5 separate regions of the Homo sapiens genome follow, and all the other regions are linked to region 4. The links are contacts of gene promoters, found by promoter capture Hi-C in blood cells and fetal thymus (Javierre and others, 2016). All regions are on one chromosome and are shown on one strand. Each heading gives the region's core, a stretch centred on a gene start or on the middle of the fragment in contact. The rest is flanking DNA. Distances are from core to core; before and after follow the strand shown.

Evidence for each region. The method cuts DNA at HindIII sites, captures the fragments that hold promoters and counts their contacts. A CHiCAGO score of 5 or more calls a contact.
Region 1: a contact is called between a fragment that was not itself captured here and the fragment with the promoter of CLU in region 4, in 4 of 17 cell types (erythroblasts, megakaryocytes, naive B cells and 1 more). The highest score is 7.1, in erythroblasts.
Region 2: a contact is called between the fragment with the promoter of SCARA5 here and the fragment with the promoter of CLU in region 4, in 1 of 17 cell types (endothelial precursors). The highest score is 6.7, in endothelial precursors.
Region 3: a fragment that was not itself captured here is called in contact with the fragment with the promoter of CLU in region 4 in 1 of 17 cell types (neutrophils); the score reaches 6.2 in neutrophils.
Region 5: a contact is called between a fragment that was not itself captured here and the fragment with the promoter of CLU in region 4, in 9 of 17 cell types (monocytes, fetal thymus, total CD8 T cells and 6 more). The highest score is 7.1, in monocytes.

The regions. Positions count from the first base shown.
Region 1 is chr8:27,317,928-27,322,452 of GRCh38, forward strand. It overlaps a transcript of PTK2B not described here. Among named protein-coding and RNA genes, the nearest start is that of PTK2B, 5.4 kb to the right of the region's middle. The HindIII fragment of the contact is 4,732 bases long and covers 1-4,447 here.
Region 2 is chr8:27,989,972-27,994,738 of GRCh38, forward strand. It overlaps SCARA5 (scavenger receptor class A member 5), which reads right to left and starts at 2,702. Exons shown (of 9, transcript NM_173833.6): 1 at 2,286-2,702. The HindIII fragment of the contact is 6,163 bases long and covers 1-3,000 here.
Region 3 is chr8:27,264,200-27,268,570 of GRCh38, forward strand. No RefSeq gene overlaps it. Among named protein-coding and RNA genes, the nearest start is that of STMN4, 8.0 kb to the left of the region's middle. The HindIII fragment of the contact is 576 bases long and covers 2,677-3,252 here.
Region 4 is chr8:27,613,279-27,618,324 of GRCh38, forward strand. It overlaps CLU (clusterin), which reads right to left and starts at 1,422. Exons shown (of 9, transcript NM_001831.4): 1 at 1,377-1,422. RefSeq lists silencers at 1-20, 1,576-1,665 and enhancers at 1,054-1,553, 2,510-3,010, 3,301-4,057. The HindIII fragment of the contact is 8,616 bases long and covers 1-3,925 here.
Region 5 is chr8:27,298,945-27,303,294 of GRCh38, forward strand. All of the region lies in intron 1 of TRIM35 (tripartite motif containing 35), which reads right to left. Among named protein-coding and RNA genes, the nearest start is that of TRIM35, 10 kb to the right of the region's middle. The HindIII fragment of the contact is 2,439 bases long and covers 389-2,827 here.

The DNA.
Region 1 (4,525 bases), core at 832-3,331, 290 kb before region 4:
TTATATTGAAGCACTCAATTATTTTATTGGAAACATTTTGAATGGGAATATTTCAGAAATATATTTTGTGGTTTTTTTTCTCTAAAGCATGCAGAACGTAATATAAATCATACCTCATGATGCACCAAAATAGACAATAATACTCTACTGTGCTGGCTAATAAAGTAATAGGAGTTAATGAAGTATGCAGGGTTATTTGTCTCTGTCCTGTAAATGGCCACAGATGCTTGGTTTTGAGGGCTCTTGCACATGCTAGGCATTTTTTTCCTGTCTAGAAGTTCTTCTTGTTCCTAACAATGCATTTGCCTGCAGCAATCTGCTTTCACTTCCTAGTTGATGTTTCCTGCACACGGTGGGCTGGGACCAGATCACCACGTTTGTTAAAATTATGGAATTCGACACTGGCAAGCAAGGTTTGGGCAGTCACTCAATGCTTCAGAGCTTATCCATGGGATGTTGGGGACCAGATGAGCCCACTCACAGGTGGGGGTTAGGGGTTCAGAGCCAAGAAGACCAAAGTCATAGAGCTGATTCAGAGTCGGCAGGGCATCAGGGAAGTCTCCTTTTCCAGGCAGCCACTCTTTCTAGGAGCAGCCTGCAGGCCAGCCCTGCAGCAACCTGGGGAGTTATGGAAATCCTGAAGCGTGCCCAATAGCTGCGGAAACCATGTGTCCTCTGTGGCAACCATGTGTCCTCTGTGGCATTGAGGCTTTCTCTGCATGGTTTTGTTTGTTTGTTTTTGAGGCAGAGTATTGCTCTATTGCCCAGGCTGGAGTATAGTGGCATGACCTCGGCTCACTGCAACCTCCGCCTCCAGGGTTCAAGCAATTCTTCTGCCTCAGCCTCCGGAGTAGCTGGAATTACAGGTATGCACCATCACACCCAGCTAATTTTTGTATTTTTAGTAGACATGGGGTTTCACCATGTCGGCCAGGCTGGTCTCAAACTCCTGACCTGAAGTGATCTGCCCACCTCAGCCTCCCAAAGTGCTGGGATTACAGGCGTGAGCCACTGCGCCTGGCCTTTCGTGTTGTTCTTTAATGGAACAATTAAAAATGCTCTTCAGTGTTTTCCATCCTTCCAAAAATTGACCCAAATCAATTTTTCAATGGTTTAACTATGTCTTTATTTTTCCCAAAGAGATTCACATTGGATTATTTCCAGGAGCCCTTTTTTATCCTCTGTGGAAAGATCTTATTTTGTTCATTTTTTTTAACTTTTTCATTATGTGCAGTTTCAAATGCACTCAATATTTTAGAGAGAACAGTATAATTAACCCCCACATACCCATCATTCAGCTTGCATTATTATCAACTTTGCTATTTTCGTTTTATCTCTCCCCTCTACAGATTTTTTTTTGGATGGGGGAGGTGGAATATTTTAAAGCAACCTTTTTTTTTTTTTCAGGAACCCGTTTTAAAAAGTTACAACAGGGTGGGGCATGGTGGCTCATGCCTGTAATCCCAGCACTTTGGGAGGCCAAGGCGGGAGGATCACGAGGTCAGGAGATCGAGACTGTCCGGGCTAACATGGTGAAACCCCGTCTCTACTAAAAATACAAAAAAAATTAGCCAGGCCCGGTGGCGGGCGCCTGTAGTCCCAGCTACTCGGGAGGCTGAGACAGGAGAATGGCATGAACCTGGGAGGTAGAGCTTGCAGTAAGCCAAGATTGCACCACTGCCCTCTAGCTTGGGTGACAGAGCAAGACTCTGTCTCAAAAAAAAAAAAAAAAAAAAAATTACAACAGGACATAATATCCATTAATGGTCAGTTATGAGCTATAGCAATAGCAAGGAAATGCACATGTACTTCTAGTTTTTCTAACATCCCATAAGGTAAATTAATCCCATTTTATACATGAGAAAATTGAGGTTCTGCCTTAACTTATATCTAAAAGAAAATAGGATAAATGGTGGTGTATTAGCTAGGATGCTCTGAAGAAAAGAAAAACGCTGCATATTTCTCTGTACTCTTCTGTACCACCCAACAGTCACGTCTGATGCTGGATGTGCAGGAGTTTCTCCCCACCAACAACTGATTGCCAGTGAACACCAGCTGGTGAGACAGCCGGGTGGGAAGGGTCCCCAGAGAAACTCTAGCCAGCCTGTATACTGGGAGGAGTGCGCATTGGGGTGGAGCCACAGGAGTTCCTGCTGTTTGTAGTGGGGAGGAGTCTGGCCCCTCCTTTTCCTGGGTGGTACCTGCGATTCAAACTGTGAGGTAGGAAGCACGTAGGGACTCTGGCTTTGTGAAGGGTCCCTGTTGCCATTTTTTTCCCTCTTCACCCAATAAAACCCTGCCTTACTCACCCTTCAAATTGTCTGTGAGCCTAATCTTTCATGGCCATGAGACAAGGACCCCGTCTTTAGCTAAACTAAGGAAAAGTCCCACAACACTGAGCGTCCCATAATTCAGCTCAATTCAGACACTATCTACCTGGAGATAGCATCAGATCCCACAGGCTAAGGGCTCAGTCCCACAGGACTGCCCCAACTCCCCACCCTGCCACCCCGCTCCAGCTTCAGATGCCAGTAGCAAGTCCCGGGTTGTGGCCTGTGCTTCCGACTGACTGGCTATACATCAGGGTTCCCATGACCCCTCCTTAGGTTTGATTAATCTGCTAGAGTGGCTCACAAAGCTCAGAGAAACACTTTTCTTTCTTTTGTCCTTTATTAAAAAAGATATTGTGAAAGATACAGGTGAGCAACCAAAGGGAAGAGATGCACAGGGTGAGGTCTGTGGGAAGGGGCATGGAGCTTCATGCCTTCCCTTAAAGTGCCACCCTTTGAGAACCTCTGCAACTTCAGCTCTGAACCATGTTCTTTTGGGTTTTTAGGAAGGCTTCTTTATGTAGGCATGACTGATTACAGTATTGGCCATGGGTGATCAACTCAACCTTCAGCCCCTTTCCTTCCCCAAGTTTTAGGGATAGCGCTGAAAGTTCAGCCTTCTCATCATACCTCAGTTTTTCTGATGACCAGCCCTCATCCTGAAGCTATCTAAGGGATCTAAGATACCTAAGCCACCAGGCATCTCATTGGCATACAAAAGGCTTTTTTTTTTTTTTTTTTTTTTTTTTTTTGAGACAGGGTGTTGCTCTGTTGCCCAAGCTAAATTCATCCACTGGTGCAATCATAGCTCATTGCATCCTCAGTCTCCTGGGCTCAAGCAATCCTCTTGCATCAGCCTCCCAAGCAGCTAAAACTACAGGTGCATACCACCATGCCCAGCTAATTTTTGTATTTTTTTGTACAGATGAAGTCTTGCCACGTTGGCCAGGCTGGCCTCGAACTCTTGGCCTCAAGCAATCCTCCCACCTCAGCCTCTCAAAGTGTTTGGATTATAGGCATGAGCCACCATGCCTGGCCTCAAAAAAACATTCTTAACACTCCAGAAATTCCAAGGGTTTTAGAAGTTGTGTGCACGGTCAGAGACCAAATATATATTTCTTATTATGTCATAGTATCACCGATGCAGTTCAGGCTATGGTAACAGAAAGGCCAAAATAAAGTAACCCAAGCAACTTAAATTTCTTTCTCATGTAAAAGTTAAACTAGGTTCAGACTATGTCCAGGGTAAGCATGGTGGCTGGACGGCATTAGGTACCCGGATTCTTAACATCATAGACTGGATGGCTGCTCCAGGTTTCATTGTCAGGTGGAGGTGGAAAAGATAAAGTGGAAAATATTGGAGGATGTGCTCATTCCCTTGAGGGGCATGATTCTGGAGTTGCGTGCATAACTTCTACTCTTCAACCATTGCGGAGAACTTAATCACATGGTCGCACCTGGTCACACATGCAAGGGAGACTGGGAAATGTAGCCTTCATTTTGGGCAGGCTGTGACCATCTGAAAGTCAGGGATTCCAATATTAAGGAAAGAAAAGAGAAAGTTCTTTTTTAGGTTGAGGGCATGATTTTGAGTTCTATTCAAGCCATACTCAACTTATTTTGGCCTCAACTGTGGCCCACTTCGTAAACATAGTGATGTCTGGTTAAATTAGAGGTAGACATCCCTTGGTGATGAAGTACTTTTTTCAGTACTTGTACCCATAAGTTTTTCTTTGTCCCTTTTTTTTTTTAAATGGACTATCACTCTGTCACCCAGGCTGGAGTGCAGTGGCATGATTATAGCTCACTGTAACCTCTGCCTCCCAGGTTCAAGCGATTCTCCTGCCTCAGCCCCACCAAGGAGCTGGGACTACAGGCATACACCACTATGCCCAGCTAGTTTTTGTATTTATCCATTTTTTTTGTTAGAATACTTATAACCATACTGTTCTTTTAAAATAAAATTTATTCTACATAATAGTAAATTTACATGATGTAATTTAAATTCCATCATTTACAATGGAGAGATGCCAGTTACATAATGTCGCAGCCCTGCCAATGATGGGTTTTGCTCTTTACCACCTGGGAGCCTGTGAATAATTTATTTACCTTATCCAAGCTTCCTTTTCCTTTCTGCAAACCAGGAATAGGACTAGCAACTTCATAGACGGTTGTGAAGACAAGCTAGACGGCAG
Region 2 (4,767 bases), core at 1,452-3,951, 380 kb after region 4:
CTCTGCCAAAGGCAATAGCCTCTGCTTCCCAGAGGCCACACAGAGCCAGACAGGGCGCTGCCCCTGGGGAGTGGAGGTGTGAGGCCCCACTGCCATTTCCACCTTCCTCCTCTTCTGGTCAGCTCCTGGGACGGGGCTGGAATGCACGGCTTGTTAGCCAGAATGTGTGTGAAGGGCAGCTGTCTCCTTCCTCCTCCCCACCCCTCAGCTGGTCCAGCAGGAGCCCAGGGGATCTGCTGGGGAGAGGGACTGGGGCCGAGCGGGGCCAGATGTGAGTGCACAGGGCTTGGAAAAGCTCAGACAACTCTACTCATGTTTGTTACTTGGAATTGAAACCTACGCATGTTCTGTCTGCCCAAGGTTTCTTGGGGGCTGTTTTTCTTTCTTGGGGGAGGAAGCAGGCATTGGGACCCTCAGATCATGGATCTTACTGTCTTTGGACCAAGTCTGTGCTCTAGAAGATGAAACTGATGGCAAGTGCTCCTCCCAGGAGCACTGTGTTGGGGGTAGGCTGATGGCATTTGCATTCCGTCCCTCCCATTTTAAACATAAGCCATCCCAGACCAAAGAGGCAAAGGAAGGAATGGATATCAGAGCGGGAAGAGGCCCCGGGCACAGTTTTCCTACACAGGGCACTGGCTCAGCTGCAGGGTTGCTTTGTTTGGGAATTGCATGTCAGCCCCTTTGGTGACCACTTTCTGGGCCCCAGATCAGGCAGAGAAGAGAATCCCACCTCAGACTGCCAGCCAGTGTACTCCAGCAGGTGGGGATCCTGGGACTGAGGCAGGGCTCTGAGAGCTTGAAGCACATGGGCGAGATGTGGAAGCCACAGTGACCTGTGGATGAAGCCCAAGGAGACTGGACCTCAACTTGCAACTCAAAGAGGGAGGTCTTGCTCTAACAGGGAGGTGTCACCCTCTCCACTAACCTCTTGGCAATCATGATTTACTTCCAGACAATTTCACCCAAGGCACTTAGAAGGGCAGGTTCAGAGCCAGGGATCTGCTTCTAGATTCTGCATTTTAGAGCTGGAAAAGCCCTCAGCCATCTGTGCCCTGCAGCCCTGTGCCCTGGGGCCATCTGCGCCCTGCAGGCCTGGCTCTCTGCAGGAATGCAGGGAACACAGAAGCCAAGGGCTCCCATCCTAGCTCCTCTGCGTATTGGTTTCTTGGGGGAACTTGGCTCAATTACCTGACCTCATTCAGCCTCAGGTACATGACCTCTAAGATGGGAAGGTGGGTAGCTGCTGGTCACCCAGGATCACTGTGAGCCTCCCGTGAGATAATGCATGTGGCATGACTTTATGAACAAGGTCACTCAGGGGAGCTGGTGGCAGTCTGATGAGAAAAAGCATCCCCCAGCATCTTCTGACTCTGCCTGGCAGCCAGGTAAGGGGGTGTCCAGGTTCCCAAGGCCTCCCTCCTACCTAGCCAGTCTCAGAAACAAAGCTGTTTGAAGTTCCCTTTGTAAAAGGCAATCGCGAATGCACTCTAGGGCTGATATCAGGACCCTGGCTCTTCAATCCTTCTCTGGAGATCAGAAGGACTCCATTAATTCCTCCTCTGAGTGGGTAGCACGAGCCTCATTTGCTGCTACCAAGTCAGTTTCTCTGGGTACCCGCATCTAACTCTGCAGGGTTTATGGCTTTTCTTTGGATTACCTCACTTTAAACTCATCAAAACCAAGGAAAAAAATCACATGAGTGTGGCCCTTCTCCAAAGAGAGAATCACTAAGGAGGTTTTAAATGTTTTCCTCCTCTAACTGTACTTAGTTAAGCTAAATCATAACCCAAAGCTGGACAGAGACAGATATTTTAGAAATAACCTCTCCCCACATATATCCCACCACTGGCACATGCACACGCACAGACATGCACACACACACACATGCACACACACACACATGCACACACACACATGCACACACACACATGCACACACACGAAGCCATGGAGAGGAGCTGTCACCTGAGCCATCTGCACCCTGAGTAGGCTCTTGAGCTGTGACATGAGTCAGGTGGAGTAGCCACCAAGGCAATAGCTTCCCTCTGGCACCCCAAATGCAGGCTCACATTCTCTCCAGCCCAGGCAGTTGGATGAGGGCCCGGCAGATATCTGCGGGCCCAGCAGGCGGGGACCTTCCCACCTGGAGAAGGCACCTCCAGGCTCTAGGTCTGAAGTTTCCCAAACTCTGTACTCCTCTCCATCCAGTTCACTCCAGTCTCCTCCAGCTGTCTTTGAGACAGCATGCCCAGGAGATAGGACAAAATTAGTACCAAGACTCACCTGAGTGCCCCTGGCTGAGGCTGTAGAGCCTTGTCCCCTCAGATCTCAGCATTTGCCATGGTGGCCAGAGAGCTGGCTGCCACCACGCTGAGAGCCAGGCCGCCCCTCGGACCGCGTCCCCACAGCCAGCCAAATCCAGATGGAGTCATAGAAAGGGGCTGCAGGGGCGCCCAGGGACGAGTCTCAGAGCAGGACCACAGGGGCCACTTCTGCAGGAGGACCAGGTCAAGATGCAACCTGTGGCAGAGTGGGGGTCTGGGCCTGGGGGACCCAGAATGGGGGGTGTGCGCCTGGGACTCCCTGTCCTTGGTGCCTGGTCCTGGGTAGCGATCAGGAGATGTTCTGAGGAGGCACCGGCAGCTCCTCTAGGTACTGCCTGAGATGCGAACTGCAGCTGCTCTCGCCGCCAGTCCGTATAAAATAAAGTTCTTGGAGCAGTTGCGGAGGCTTCTGCAATGGGGTCTGGAATACGGCCCCCCTCCTGCGGCCAATCGTGGCATTACAGCCCCGTGTGGGAACGCCCGCTGGGCCCAGAGCAGCGCGGTCGGCCTTGGCCTTGGGACTCCAACACCCCAGTCTAAAGGTCCTGCTCAAAATACTTTTTGGAAGACTTCTGGGGGAGTGGCAGCTAGACCTGGCTTATGAGCCACGCAAGAAAACCAGTCTTGTAAATTTATTTATAGCACAGAATTGGCATGGCTCAATTCATTCACCAAGCTTGGCACAGAGTTACTTCATGTATTTTCCTGGAGTCACATTCATCCTCAGTGGACACGGATTGGCCACACTGGGGGTAGTCAGGAAAATGCCCCAGGGGGTTCCACGGAACTCAGCAGCAGAATCAGCGTTTCTGGCTCATTAACGCTGCACAGGGGCTGGGGGGTGCAGGATGAAGACTAGCTGGCTGTCCATAGCAATTCAGTATGGGAGGGGGACCCAGGCACGAATAATCCTAAACCTGAGCATGATTGCTTACGTTTGAAAAAGGACATCTAGGCCGGGTGCAGTGACTCACACCTGTGGTCCCAGCACTTTGGGAGGCTGAGGTGGGAGGATTGCTTGAGCCCACCCACAAGTTCAAGACCAGCCTGGGCAACATAGTGAGACCCCATCTCTAAAAAAAAAAAAAATCTCTTTAAAGGCAATCTAACCATATGTGAAGGGAGCTGCTAAATTCAGATTGAGGTGGTAGTATCAGGGGCATCAGAGAAATCACCATAATTGTCCAAGCCAGGGTGGCAGAGTTAGGCTATGCAGATGGCTTCCAGAGGACAGCACCCAGAGGTAACATTCATGAATGCATTCCTGTTTGTTGGTGAAAAGTTCAGCCTCAAGACTCCAGGGTCAGGCTTCGTACATGAAAAGTGTTTGCCAAGACTCAGCTGTGTCACTGCAGCTGCCCGCCCACAGCTGAGTCAGAAACGCCGTCCTCATTCTCAGTGACTGCCCTGCCTGACTGCCTAGGAAGCAGCTCCAACATCAAACTCCATTTTACAGAAAGAACAAATGATAATTGTATCATTATGGTAATAATCCCAGGGAGCGGAGGAGGAGAAGGAAAAGAAGACAACACTTTATAGCATATACCATGTGTTTCTTATATATTAGCTCATTGAACCTATTCAACAACCCCCTGAGGCAGGTGCTGCTATTATGCTCATTTACAGAGACAGAGAGGAAGTGACTTGTCCAGGGTCTTGTAGCCAGTAAGTGGCAGAGCTAGTATTCAACCCTAGGCAATGTGATCCTAGGGTCTATGCTCTTAACCCCTCCCCTGTACCATTGCCTCTCAAGGGGAAACAAATGTTTTTGTCCCCCATCAATTCACCAACATTCCTAGGAATGTAATCTTAAAAACAGCCAGAAATGTGCTCAAAATATGATGTCCAACCAGCCTGGGCAACATGACAAAACCCTGTCTCTACAAAAAAAAAAAAATACAAACAATAGCTGGGCGTGGTGATGCACACCTGTAGTCCCAGGTGCTTGGGAGGCTGAGATGGGAGGATCAACTGAGCCCAGGAGTTTGAGGCTGCAGTGAGCTGTGATCGCACCACTGCACCCCAGACTGGGTAACAGAACAAGATCCTGTCTTAAAAAAAAAAGTGATGTCCAAAGACCTTCCCTAAAGAGATGTGTATGTTAGCAAGAAATGTGGTAGTTAGTGTCCCCCTAAATTCAAGCATTGGAAATGTAATCTTTATTGCAACAGTGTTGGGAGGTGGGGCCTTTGTGGGGGTATTTGAGTCATGAATGTATTTGGGATGCCGTAGAAAGGGCTTGCAGGAGTGGGCTGGCTTGATCCTCTGCCTTTCTGCCATGTGAGGACTCCACGCTCATCCTCGCTTGTCCTCCCACCTCCCGCCCTGTTCGAAGCACTGAGTCCTATTGCGTGATAGGCACATACCACACACAATGTGTATATCGGTCTCCTGCTGAAGGGGGTTTGGGATGTTTCCAATCTTTGTCTATTATGAATAAA
Region 3 (4,371 bases), core at 1,715-4,214, 350 kb before region 4:
CCAGGTGTGGTGGCACGTGCCTATAACCTCAGCTAATTGGGAGGCTGAGGCAGGAGAATCGCTTGAAACTAGGAGTCAGAGGTTGCAGTGAGCCAACATTATGCCACTGCACTCCAGCCTGAGAGACAGACAAGACTCAGTCTCAAAGAAAACAAAAAACAAAAAACAAACAAACAAACAAAAAAACAGTAGGCCAAGTGTGGTGGTTCACACCTGTCATCCTGTCATCCCAGCACTTTGGGAGGCCTAGGCAGGCGGATCATTTGATCTCAGGAGTTCAAGACCAGCCTGGGCAACATAGTGAGACCCCTGTCTCTATTCATTAAAAGAAAAAACAATAATGACAATACCGAATGCTGGTGAGAATGCACAGAAACTAGATAGCTCCTGCATTGCTGGTGGCAATGGAAAATGGTACAACCATTCTGGAAAGTCATTTGGGGGTTTCTTAACTAAACATATACTTGCCAGATCACCAAGCAATTGCATTCCTGGGCGTGATTCCAAGAGAAATGAAAATGTATTCACACAAAAATCTTGTACACAAATATTCATCACAGTTTTATTCATAATAACCCCAAACTGGAAACAACCAACATGTCCCTCAATAGGCGAATGGATAAACAAACTGTGGTTCATCCGTACCATGGAATGCTATTTGGTAATAAAAAAGGATGAACTGCTGATACACACAGCAACTTGAGTGGATCTCAAGGGAATCACGCTGAGAAAAAAAAAGCCAGTCTCAAAAGGTCACAAAGTGTATGATTCCATTGATAGAATATTCACAAAAGGACAAGACTATAGAGATGGAGAACAGACTGGTAGTTGCCAGGAGCTAGGAGTGGTGGAAAGAAGGAAGGATCACTCTAAAAGGGGTGGCAAGAAGAAAACCTTTGTGGGATGGAACAGTTGTGTGTCTTGATTGTGGTGGTAGTTACACCAGTCTACACATGGGATAAAATGACATAGAACTATAGACACACATTGCACCCATTTCCTGGTTTGATATAGTACCACAGTTATGTAAAGTGTAACCACGGGAGGAACTGAGTAGAGGGTAGGTGGGACCTCTCTATTATACTATCTTTGCAACTTCCAAATCTGTAATTATTTCAAAATAAACAGTTACTAGAAAAGGGGAGAAAAGAGGAGTTGGGAATTCTTTATTTAACCCAAAACGGAGGATTCCTCCCAAAAAAGAAGAGTCAGGAAAGCAATCACAAGTCAGTTCTTTCTCTCTCCCTCTTTTGTTCTCTCTCCCTCTTTCTCTCTCCCTCCCTTTCCTTCTTTCTCACCCTCTTTCTCCCTCTCCCTTTCTCTTTCCCTCTTTCTTTCTCTCTCTCCCTCTTTCTCTCTTGCTCTTTCTCTTTCTCTCCCTCTTTCTCTCTCCCTCTTTCTTTCTTTCTCTCTCTCCCTCTTTCTCTTTCTCTCCCTCTCTCTCTCTCCCTCTTTCTCTCTCCCTCTTTCTCTTTCTCTCTCTCCCTCTTTCTCTTTCTCTCCCTCTTTCTCTCTCTCCCTCTTTCTCTCTCCCTTTCTCTCTCTCTCTTTCTCTCTCCCTTTCTCTCTCCCTTTTTCTCTCTCCCTCTCTTTCTCTCTCTCCCTCTTTCTCTCTTCCTCTCTTTCTCTCTCCCTCTTTCTCTCTCCCTCTCTTTCTCTCTCTGCCTATCTCTCCCCTCTTTCTCTCTCTCCCTCTTTCTCTCTCCCTTTCTCTCTCTCCCTCTTTCTCTCTCTCCCTCTTTCTCTCTCCCTCTCTTTCTCTCTCTCCCTCTTTCTTTCTCTCTCTCCGTTTCTCTCTCTCCCTCTTTCTCTCTCCCTCTTTCTCTCTTTCCCTCTCTCTCTCTCCCTCTTTCTCTCTCTCCCTCTTTCTCTCTCTCCCTCTTTCTCTCTCTCTCCATTTCTTTCTCTTTCTCCTTCTCTCTCTCTCCCTCTTTATTTCTCTGTGTCTCTCTCCTCTCTCTGCAAAGCTGCGTCATTCATCTTTGCAGACCACCTTCTGTGCTGCTCATGCATGTGGCTGCCTCACAGCCATGAAGGATGCCAGTGCTTTTTGGTGGTGCTAGTGTTCGTTGTAGTTGGGCCACACAGAGAAACCCATTAGCCCTCTCTTAGATTCAGTTTAAAGCTCTCAGGAAAACAAAATCCACTAACCCTGCCTGAGCCTGGAGTCCATGCCTCTTCCCATGGCAGTGGGGTCGCACAGTACAGATGTAACTGCCTCCGGGAATATGGACGCTTCCTCCTTTCTACACAGAGGTGAGGTCCTGATCCCAGGAAATGCCCCTTTCTCCTCCAGATCAGTCCCAGATGGATGGGTCTATAAAGCAAATGACAAAAACCCACCATCTATAGTCCACCTGATAGAGAACACTGGGAGAAAGGCTGGCCAGTAGCCATAAAGCTTTCCCACTTAAACACAAAGAAGGAAGGACCCTCAAGACAGAAGCCCCTGGGCAGGCTACTGGTGTTGAAACCACCTTTCCAAAAATTACACACTGAGAAAATGATGGCAGTGGGAGAGATCTGATCTAGCCAAACCCCATCTTGCCTTTGGCCTTCAAGCTGCCCTTAATTATTTCTGGGTTTAGGACAAGCTAACTTTAGGAGAGATTTAATTTATAGTTTAAATAATAATCAATAAATAATAAATAAAGTTTAATAATAGCCCTTCCCCAAAGCTTTAGCCTTTGTAAAGTTAATGAGAGATTGCCAGGCTAGGAGGAGGAGAGGAGGCTGAATTCGGCTAAGGTGCAGACATAAACAACTGCCAGCCATTATTTTGGAGGTCACACGATATGCAATGTCCCCAGTCACTCCTGCAAGTAACATCACTATTGAAGAACCTAAGATTGGCCATTTGAGATATCTCTTCAGGTTTTTTGCATGTTTGATGACCAGTGGCTCCATCTGGGCCCTCCAACTGCTCCTGTGGCCCCACCCAGAAGCAACTCAGTGTGCAGGAGGAACACTTCCCATGCCCCATGATTGTGCCCCCAACCAATCAGCAGCAACCACCCATTGCCTCGCTACCTCCACCCCTTCCTTCAAACTGTCTTTGATAAACCCTAGCCTCTAAATGCTCAGGAAGATTGATTTGAGTAATAACTCTGTCTCCCCCATGGCATGACAGGCCTCATGTCAATTAAACTCCATGGTCTCCATCAATTGCTTTTGTCTGTGCATTGGGAAGGAAGAACTCATCAGGCGGTTACAGTGTAAAGTGTGGGCTGCCTCCCATGGGACACACGATGAAGCTTGTGGCCCCCTGCATGGTGACTCCAGCTGACACCCAAGAGAGTTCCTTGGTGAGCCAGTAAACCACTTTAGGCTCTGCCCACAGGGATATTGCCCTTGTCCAGGGTCCTCCCGGCCCACCTCGGAAGGAGCCTGAGAAGAAACTGACTGTGGTCATGTGACGTCTTCTGAAGGCAGCTGGCAGTCTTCTGGCTTGGCCCACAGCTTGCCTGAGGGATGAAGATGCCCTGTGTGTGGTTGGTTTGTGTTGATCTAAAGACCCTGTTCTCCAGGCTTGAGGTTTTTTTTGGCAGCACAGCACCTATAAAACCTTAACTGGCAGCCTGTCGATTTAATTTAGGGAGACTGCATTTGTTGAAAGCTGTTTCTAGACAGCTTGTGAAGCTGAGCAGCTGAGCTGGGCCCTGCCTGTGGGGCTGCAGTTTCTTAGAAGGAAGCCCGAGGGCTCTGGTTCTCTGCTTAACGGATTTCGCCTTAGGGTGCGCAGGGCAGTTGAGAAAGTCCACCTTCACCTTGTTAATTTGTAGATCATCCCAAACCTGGTTCCAAAGGGTGCTTCACAGTGGGAGGCACCCCCCATCTTGTCCAGCAAGAGGGTGCAGAAAAATGGACCGGAAGAAGTTTGGAAGATTCAGGGTTTCCCAGCTCCCCTGGCCTTTCCTGAATGTCCTTATTCCAAGTGCCAGAACCTCGCTGTTTCATAATTGGTGCACCAAATTTAGTTCTCGATGTAGGTTGCTGCAGAGTGTAACTGCTGCAGCTCTGTAAGTCCTGTGATTAACTTCGAGAATTGACTCTAAGTGGTCTCAGATCCTATACTATGAGCAGAAAGGACTTCAGGAGCAGGGTTTGCACAACTGACCTAGTTTTCCTGTTTTTCCCATCCACTTTAAGCCCAACAGCCTCAGACTTGACCCCATGCACTTTACTGAAATCCCAGAGAGTCAACAGCATGGCCTGACGTCCTTCAAGATGGCCTTACAATCCCCTAAAGCCTCAGTCTCAGTAGAAAAACTGTCCAAGTTCCAAAAACCAGCAACACTGATTTCACCAGCTGTTTCTGTTTGTATATCACTGACAGGCAGCCAGCTTCCCCAATCCCAGAATGATGGGATC
Region 4 (5,046 bases), core at 172-2,671:
CAGAGGCTGAGGCATGAGAACTGCTTGAACCCGGATGGCGGAGGTTGCAGTGAGCCGAGATGGCGCTACTCTACTCCAGCCTGGGCAACAGAGTGAGACTTGGTCTCAGGAAAAAAAAAAAAAAAGAGAGAAAAGAAAGAAAGAAAATCAATGACTGTGAACAGGGAGCCGTGGGGAGGATGGGAAGACAGTGAAGAGGGCACACAGATGGTGAGGGTTTCAATCCCAAAGCCCCGGCTCCTATCTGCTTCTTCAAATGGAGAAAACTAAACCAAAAGGAAAATAAGAAAAATAATCACCGGTAATTCATATCACCCAGAGGCAAAGGTTAGCACTGTGGTATATTTCCTTCTGTCTTCCATGCAGTTTATACAAGATTCTTCACATTCACCATCTTCAAATATTCTTTAAGGGCATACTTTTATGGCTATGTAATACTCCACTTACTCACGGACCTAAGTTTATTTTACCATTCTCACAAGATTGGCCATTTCAGTTGTGCCCAATGCTCCACTATTATTATAACTTAACATTTTCATGGGCATCTTTTTTTATATAGTATCTGTACTTTCCTTTAAATTCCTAACCTCTCCGTTTAAAAAATAATAATAAAAATCATATTTTTTTTAACTAGGTCCAGAAATTCTGGAAGGTCAAGAGGCTTTGGCTCGAATCCCAATTCTGATACTTATTTGCTGTTTAGTGTTGGCACCAGTCCTAAACCTCTCCAGGCCTCAGATTATCATCTGTAAAATGAGACTGTGGAATCAGAGGTCTGAGGCCTGGTGGATCTTGTGTGACTTTTCTCTGATGCACCTCAGATGCATTAGGAGGCAGAAAAAGTCGGATTTCGGTGGTTGCAGCATATACTGAAATCCGCAGCCTCATACTTACAGGCAACAGTGTCCAGAGAGCTAGAGAATTTAGAAGAAAACTAGATGACTCATGCATGCAAGCCGAAAGCCACAACTGAGAGATCCGCATCTTCGCAGAGGATATGCTGCAGGAAGGAGCTCGGTGCAGGCCAGCTCTGTCACCTGCTAGCCTGGGTCTCCCGCAACGCGGCAGGTCTCCAGGTCTCAGTTTCCCCATCTTTGCGAAAGGATGATCATTATATCTGTTCTATTTACCCCCCCACCACAGAATTGTGGTTGGAGCTCGTGCTCTCAGGCGGCGGTTGCGCCGGGGCCCCTGGCTCAGCTGCCTGGTGATGGGGCTCCGGCCACCTCCCCTCCCTGGCTTCCTGGGCTCCGTCGAAAGCGCAGGGGTTGTGACTGCGAGCTGTGTCATCCCTCTCTGCCTGGCTGCCATCCCCTGCCCGCCCATCCGTCCTGGTGTGGCTCTGCTCAAGGGTAGGGAAGACGGGGACATCTCACCGGTCAGCGGCACCCTGTGCCCGCGCGCTCCTCCTGGCGACGCCGCGTTGTGGGCACTGGGAGGCGCCGTATTTATAGCGCTCTGCTCGCGCACACACCCCCTTTGGGGCTGGCTGCAAACCTGCATGACTCACGCCCAAAGAATGCCGCGGAAAGCAAGGGGAGCTTTCTGGAAGCCGGGAGGTGGGGGCCGGTGCAGCACCGGGCTGGGGGCGCCGGGGGGCGCATCATCACCACGAATAGCTGTGCTGGCTCCAGGAGAGACCCTGAGGTGCGGCCGCTCGGCGCTTCCAGTAGGGAAGAGCCTGAACTCGCGTGCCCATCTGGGAGCCCCTCTCACGCGGTTAGCCCGGCTGTCTGTCCCAGTCCAAGACACAATCTCACAGTTCCCTGGCCCTACTGACCTTAACCTTCACATTACACAAGCGCCACTTCTCTTGACCCATTTAAATAGTAAAGAGTCAGACATAATGAGGGTGGGATGGAGAGGGGCCTTGTGCTGGAGAAGAGAGCACAGGAAGTATTGAAACGCCTACTCCTGGAAACATCACACTGATGGGGGTCCCTGGACTGACCCGCCAGGCCTGGAGGAAACAGAATTGTGTTTAGGAGTGATCAGAGCAGATATGTGGAGAGCCAGAAGGCCTCTCCGGGGTCCTTGATCCACAGAGCTTAAGCAATCACTGTCCCCATCTTTTTGGAACCCAACCAAGCAGGGTGGGCTTCATGGCTGTGGGACCCTTGCAGATCCACGTTTGGTTTAATGGGCTACTGTGACGGTCTTGAAATTCTTCATAGTTTTTGAACCAGTGGACCTGAATTTTTATTTTGCCCTGAGCCTTCCCAGTTAGGAAATCAGATCTGTGTCCAGAGGGGTTTGCTGGTCTCCAACTGCTGGAGTTCCTTCTGCTGAGAGCAGGGAGAATCTCCTGTCGCAGCCACCCCTCCCCCTGGCAAGGAGGGGCAAATCTAGGAACCCTGGAGGTGCAGCTACTTCTTGGGGAAGAAAGTGAGCTGCCCATTTTGGAGCCAGGGATGTTTAAGCCCCAGGAGAGAAGTCAAGGGGCTGACAGCTGGGGCAATGGGTGGACAGGGCGGGTACAGGCAGCCCCACTGTGGGTGGCAGACTTTGAAAACCATGTGAAACAAAGGGGCTTAAAGGAGAGCTGCGTGGTCAGGGGCTGAGTTTTCCAGTTCAGGATCAGGACTATGGAGGCACAACATGGAGGCCCAGTCCCTTGCTTGCCCAACGTCCAGGGGCCACTAGGACCCCAGTCCTTTTCAGGAGGCAGCCTCGGGGAATCTTCAAGGCCCATGACTAAGTGGGAGAACCCAGACCAGGTCCATGAAAGTCTGATTACAGTCCTAGGTGTGCCCCTAGACACTGGGTGACCTCGGACTAATCACTTTGCCCTTGGGCCTCAGTTTCTTCCATCTGGACGATGAGGAATCGGGAATGGATCATCTCCACGGCTCCCTGCAACCTAACCTAGAGCCAAGCCAAGTATTAGAAGGCCATTAACCCAGAAGAAGAAAAAAATGTCCCAGAAGAGGCTACACTTTATTTTTCTTAAAAAAAAAATGTCTAATTATCAGTAACAGCTACATTTTCTGTGGACAGTGCCTGCTCCTTATCAGTGCCTGCTCCTTATCAATACCTGAGGTTAGAAGAATTGTTTTTGAGCTCGCTCCTTGTAACTTTTCTGTTCTGTAGCTCCCTCAGCATCCGGAACAGAAGGCATAAATCTAGTTATATTTTTAAAAATTAGACTTTGGAGGTCAGTCAGTGAGATCCGCCTTAGCCAGCTGAATTAGGGGAAGGGAAGAGAGGAAGAAAGGACTTGGGAGAAAATAGCATGATTCACAGATTCACAGTCATGACTGTGATCCCTTGGGAATAATTACTTGATTATTCCCACTACTAAGCAAACAAGGTTCAGAAGGTCAAACTTTGAGGAAAGAAAAGTGTAAATTTTGAAAGCGCCATAAATGCATCACCAGATGTTTCATATTCTAAGCAGATCATAGACATTGATTGGTTCAGGACTCACACACTGCTTGATTCCTACCCCATCCCCAGCATCTGCACCCGGTGGTCATCCTGCCCATGTTTGAATGCCACCAATAACAGGGAGCTCACTACCTGCCATGCAACCATTTGTCTAGTAAAGCTGTTGATAAAGTTAGGGCCTTCTTTGGTTGAGTCACAGTCTGGCTCGTGTATGGGCCAATCCGGAGCCCAGTTCTGCCCTCTGGAGCCACACAGAGAAAATCCAGCCTATCTCTCCCATAGTGCCCCTTCTGATATTTGAAGGCAACGTAGTCTGCTTTTCCCAGTGACCTCCAGGCTTGCAGCTCCTTGCCTTGCCGTGGTTTGCAGACTTTTCCCCAGCCCTTTGACATTCTGGACCTCATCTCTCTTGAAACCCTTGGCCCAGCCCTGGACTAGCCAATGCCAGTGGGGAGCCTTGGACCAGCCAATGCCGGAGGGCCTGAGCACACAAAGCAGAACAGGACCACCCCTTCCCTTGCCCTAAACACTCCAAATAAGCTTTATCAGATGCTGAGTCACTGGGCTGATTCATAGAGAATGCATCATCTTCTTGGCAGGTGCTGCTGTTTGATCCTCTGTCTCCCATTATGGACTTACACAGCTGGGTTTGGGGCATTAGCTTGATTTATTTTCTTGGAGAGTCAGAGCCATGGGGAGGGCCAGGGAGGGATGAGTAAAGACCCTTGCATTTATCTGTTTATCTATGCTTTGTGCACCATCTCTGGCTGCCTGAATGTCTCTGGGGCTGCTTCGCTACGCAGTGTCCTTATTACACATCCCCAACCAGCCTTTGTCTGGCTCAGCACCACAAGCAGGACAGCTCAGCCAGCAGTCTGATACAGCTGGAACAAACTAGGAATGGGCAAGAGCAGTATCCTGTGGCCTGTGATTAAGAATCACTCTCAGATGGGCGTGGTGACTCACACCTGTAATCCTAGCACTTTGGGAGGCTGAGGTGGGAGGATCACTTGAGTCCAGGAGTTCAAGACCAGCCAGGGCAACATAGCAAGACCCAGTTTCTACAAAAATTAAAAAATTAGCCAAGCATGGTAGTGCATGCCCGCAATCTCAGCTACTCAGGAAGCTGAGATGGAGTATCGCTTGAGCCCAGGAGGTCAAGGCTGCAGTGAGCTACGATCGCACCACTGCACTCCAGCCTGGGCAATAAAGTGAGACCCTGTCTCTCAAAAATAAAAATGAAAAAAATAAGAGAATCACTCTCCAAGGGGAGCAGGGAGGGAGGATGGTGAGAGATTGGTCAACCAGTACACAGTTAAAGTCAGATGGGAGGGATAAGTTCTGGTATTCTATCGCATAGTAGAGTTTAACTTTTTTTTTAGGTCCCAGTATCTATTGCTCCCCTCTATGTGTCCATGTGTTCTCATCATTCAGCTCCCACTTATAAGTGAAAACATGCAGAATTTTGTTTTCTGTTCCTGTGTTACTTCACTTAGAATAATAGCCTCCAGCTCCATCCATGTTCCTGCAAAAGACATGATCTCGTTCTTTTTTATGGCTGCATAGTATTCCATGGTGTATACCGTAGTATTCCATGGTGTATATATACCATATTTTCCTTATCCAGTCTGCCACTGATGGGCATTTAGGTTGATTCCA
Region 5 (4,350 bases), core at 358-2,857, 310 kb before region 4:
GTCATAGGTTCCCTCTGCAGTTTCCTAAACTGAATGGGTCTGCAATCTCTAATGTGAGGTGACTGACAATGGGGGTGGAGCCAGTCATTTCCCACGGGGTTCAGTTACCTCCCATGAGGCCTCACCTCAACATGCCCAACATGCCCCTCCATACCCCTCCTGCATCCTGACATTCTAACACTGCTTGTATCGCACGGAATACTTTAATCAGCAGGCACAAATACTTTTGGTTTAGTAGTTTTTGTTTCTTAAACTTTAATGATTGTTTCTGATGTCCTTGGACAACTTGAAGAACCACTAGAGTGTTTTAGGTTGGATTCCTGCCTCTTGTATCTTAGGCCTATCATTTTTTCTCCCTCATTATCCTTTTCGATCTACATTCTCAGAAAGCTTCTCAAGTTTTTTCTTAAGAAAAATAATTCAAATAATTATAAATGGTTATCATTTATTCAGTACTTACTCTGTGCCAGGGACAACACCAATTACTTGAGAAATTATGTCATTTAATCATTACTTCTCCCTAGTAGATAAGTAATATTATTGGCCCCATTTATAGATGAGAAAGTGAGGCACAGAAGGGAAATGACCAGCCCAAGGGCACACAGCTAGTATGTGGAAGGACGTGAACCTGGACAGCTATGGAGGCAGCTGCTGAGACAGCACCCAGTGATCCCTCCCTCCTGTGAGATGAGAGTGTTTTAAGCTGCTAAATGTCGGGGTGACTGGATATGCAGCAATAAATTATACAGATGTGTCGCCCAAAGCCTCATTCCCATCTGGACCTGATTTAGATGACAAATCTGGACTTTGGGCTGATGCTGTAAAGGGATGAGATGTTTGGAGAGCTTGGGAGAGGGCCAGTGCATTTTGCATGTGGGAGGGACATGACTCCTTATGGGGCAAAGGACAGATTCAGGCAGGCAGCCTCTAAAGTGGCCCCAGTGACCCTCACCTCCTGATACTCATGCTCTTGTGAAATCCCCTCCTCTGTGGGTGACTTGTTTCTAACCAAAAGAATGTGGCAAGTGATACTAAGTCACCTCTGAGGTTAGGCGACAAAGGCTGTGTACACCCTGCCTTCCTCTCTCTAGCTTGCTCACTGGGATGGTAGCCAGCTGCCCATGTGGTAATTTGCCCTGGGAGTGACTGCTGGGGCAAGAAACTGAGAGTGGCTTCTGACCTACAGCCAGTGAGGGACTCAGGCTCTCAGGCTAACAGCCCGTGAAGACCTGAATCCTGCCAACAACTACAAATGTGAGTGTAAATAAGGATCCTGCCCTAGCTGAGCCTTCAGATGAGACCACAGCTCCATACCTACAGCCCCTCATGACAGACCTTGAGGCAGAGGCACCCAGAGCTAAGGCAGGCCCAATTCCTGACCCACAGAAACTCAAAGATAATAAATGTTTGTTTTAAGGCACTAAGTTTTGGGCAATTTGCTAGGAAATAGAGAACTAGCCCATTGGTTAGAACTAGCCCACAGAACCCTGACTGCAGCCCCTCATGAGACACCTTGAGGCAGAGGCACCCAGAGCTAAGGCAGGCCCAATTCCTGACCCAAAGAAACTCAAAGATAATTAATGTTTGTTTTAAGGCACTAAGTTTTGGGGCAATTTGCTAGGAAATAGAGAACTAGCCCATTTGTCCCACTCAGTAGCCCATTCCTTTAAGTCTTTCACTACAGAAAACAAAATGGTTACTGATTTCATTTTCTGCAGTTCTGTTTTATTTTCAACTCATTTTGATCTTTTAATCTTAAGTGACAATATTTAAGATTTTTAAACTTTGTTTTCTGTAGTATATCATCTCTAATTTGCATGAGTGCCCCCACAAAACCACTGAAATGTCATTCCAATGTTTTATTTTATAGAATGAGATTTTTGATACAAAATCATGTAATACAGTTCAAAAGGAAAATTTAGTGATTTGCCAAATTAGTTAAGTGACAGGAGTGAAGCAGCTGTCCATACGCATTACCCAAAGGTGTGCAGGCCCCAAAACAACACAGTTCAGCCCCTGCCCTTCAACCCTGGCCCTTAGGAATTTATGGGACAATAAGGATGGGAAGGGGATAGTCCCTTGATCTTCTCAAACTTTTCAATCACTTGGAGAGTTCTGGTTTCCTTCAGAAAAGACCAATCCTAAAATGGCCCTTCTCTGAGATGTCAGCTGATGAGACTAACCAACAATTATATTACTATTGCTAGCAAGCAGTTACTATTAAGCATGTACTAGACACAAGGCACTAAATTATGCACTTTACAAACATTCTATTTAATTCAATTATTTAATTCGAATTCTCCCTATAAGGTTAAGCACTGTGAGTCCCATTATACAGAGGATCAAGTTAGACCCAGAGGAGGTAACCTTCTTGTACATGTCTCCTGGGGACACATGGGAACTCGTTTCTTCATAATATATTCCTGGGGATAAAACTGCTGGGCCACCATATGTGTCTTCACTTTACTGCGTAATGCCAAATTGTTTTCCAAAGCAGTGGTACCAATTTTTACAGCAAGAGCAATGTTAATAGAAAATGTTTATTGACCACTTCAATGTTTATTTTTAAGTACTCAGTAAAGTATTGTCCATTTTTCCATTGCGTTGCCTGCCATTTTCCTAACTGGTTTGTGGGAATTTATTATATATACACAATGTATGTCCTTGATTAGTTAGAGGTGTAATGAATATTTTCTACTTCATCATTTATCTTTCTTAATTGAAATATGGCCAAATTTATTAGTCTTTTCCTTTAGGATTAGTATACTAGTTTTAAGAAACACCTCCCTACACTGAGATCACAAAAACAATCGTATTATTTCCTCAAAGCTTTATAGCTTTGCATTATTATTGTATAGCTCTGTAGTATTTTCTCAAAGCTTTATAGCTTTCCTTTCACATTTAGGTCTGATGTGGATACCTGGAGTTTATTTTTGCACATGGTGTGACCAGGTAGCTCATTGTCTCAGCACCATTATTTAAAAAGACCATTACTGCCCACTGGTCTGCAGAGCCACCTCTGTCTTAAATCAGACACAGATCTGTTTTTTGGTTCTCTCCATCTGTTTCTCTGGCCCATCTGTTTATCCTTGTGCCAACATCACACAGCCATAATTTCTATAGCTGTAAAAAAGAGAGGATTTCTGATAGGTTTCTCTTCAAGAATGTCTTGGCAATTTTTGGCCCTTTGAGGGTCATATAAATTTTAGAATCTGTGAAGTTGCATAAAAATAATCATGTTGAGATTTAGATTAGTACAATATTGTCTCTATAGATCAATTTGGGGAAAACTGAAAGGCTTAAATACTGACTTTACTAATCCACGAACATAATATATCACACCAGTTACTTAATGTTCTTTGATAGCTCTCAACGAAGTATATTTTTCCCTATCAGAGTTTTGCGTATCTTTTATTAATTTCTTCCTAGTTATCTTATTTTTTATATTATTGTAAACATATTTTTAAATTAAAAAAACCCAAAACAGGGTCCCCCTCTGTCACCCAGGCTGCAGTGCAGTAGTAGCACAATCATAGCTCACTGCAGCCTCCTGTGCTCAAGTGATCCTCCCACCACCTCAGCCTCCCAAGTAGCTGGGACTACAAGCATGCACCACCACACCTGGCTAATTTGTTTTAACTTTTTGTAGAGACAGGCTGGACTATGTTGTGCAAGCTGGTCTGAAACTCCTTGGCTCAAACGATCCTCCTGCCTCAGCCTCCCAAAGTGCTGGGATTACAGGTGTAAAACTCCCTGCCTATATTTTATTTTCTATTTGCTAGTGATACATAGAAATACAACTGGTTTTGCATCTTGATTTTGGATTCAGCATTCACCTAAACTTATTAATACTTATGATTTAACTGTAGAATCTTTATTTTCTACACATAGAAATCTCAGTGCAAAAATATGCAACCATATTATCTACACATGCCAGTTTTGCTTCCCTTCTTTCCAAACCTTACATCTTTTATTTATAATTATTGGCTTACTTCATTGACAAGGCTATCCCACACAAAACTGAATAGAGTTGGTCATAATGCGCATTCCTGTCTTTTTCTTGATCTCAATAAGAAAGCTTTCAATGTTTTGCCATTAAATGTGATATTTGCTGTAAGTTTTTTTGCTAGATATACTTAATCAAACTAATGAAATTCCTTCCATTTCTAGTTTCCTGTTTTTTTAAACACAAAAAGATGGTAAATTTTATCAAATGTTTTCTCACTGAGATAATTATATTAAGCAACACAGAATTAGGTTTCGTTTTCTTATCCAGTCAGATCAACATTTTCATTTAACTGGAGTATTTAACACATAATTACCGATATGTTTGCATTTAAATCTGCCACC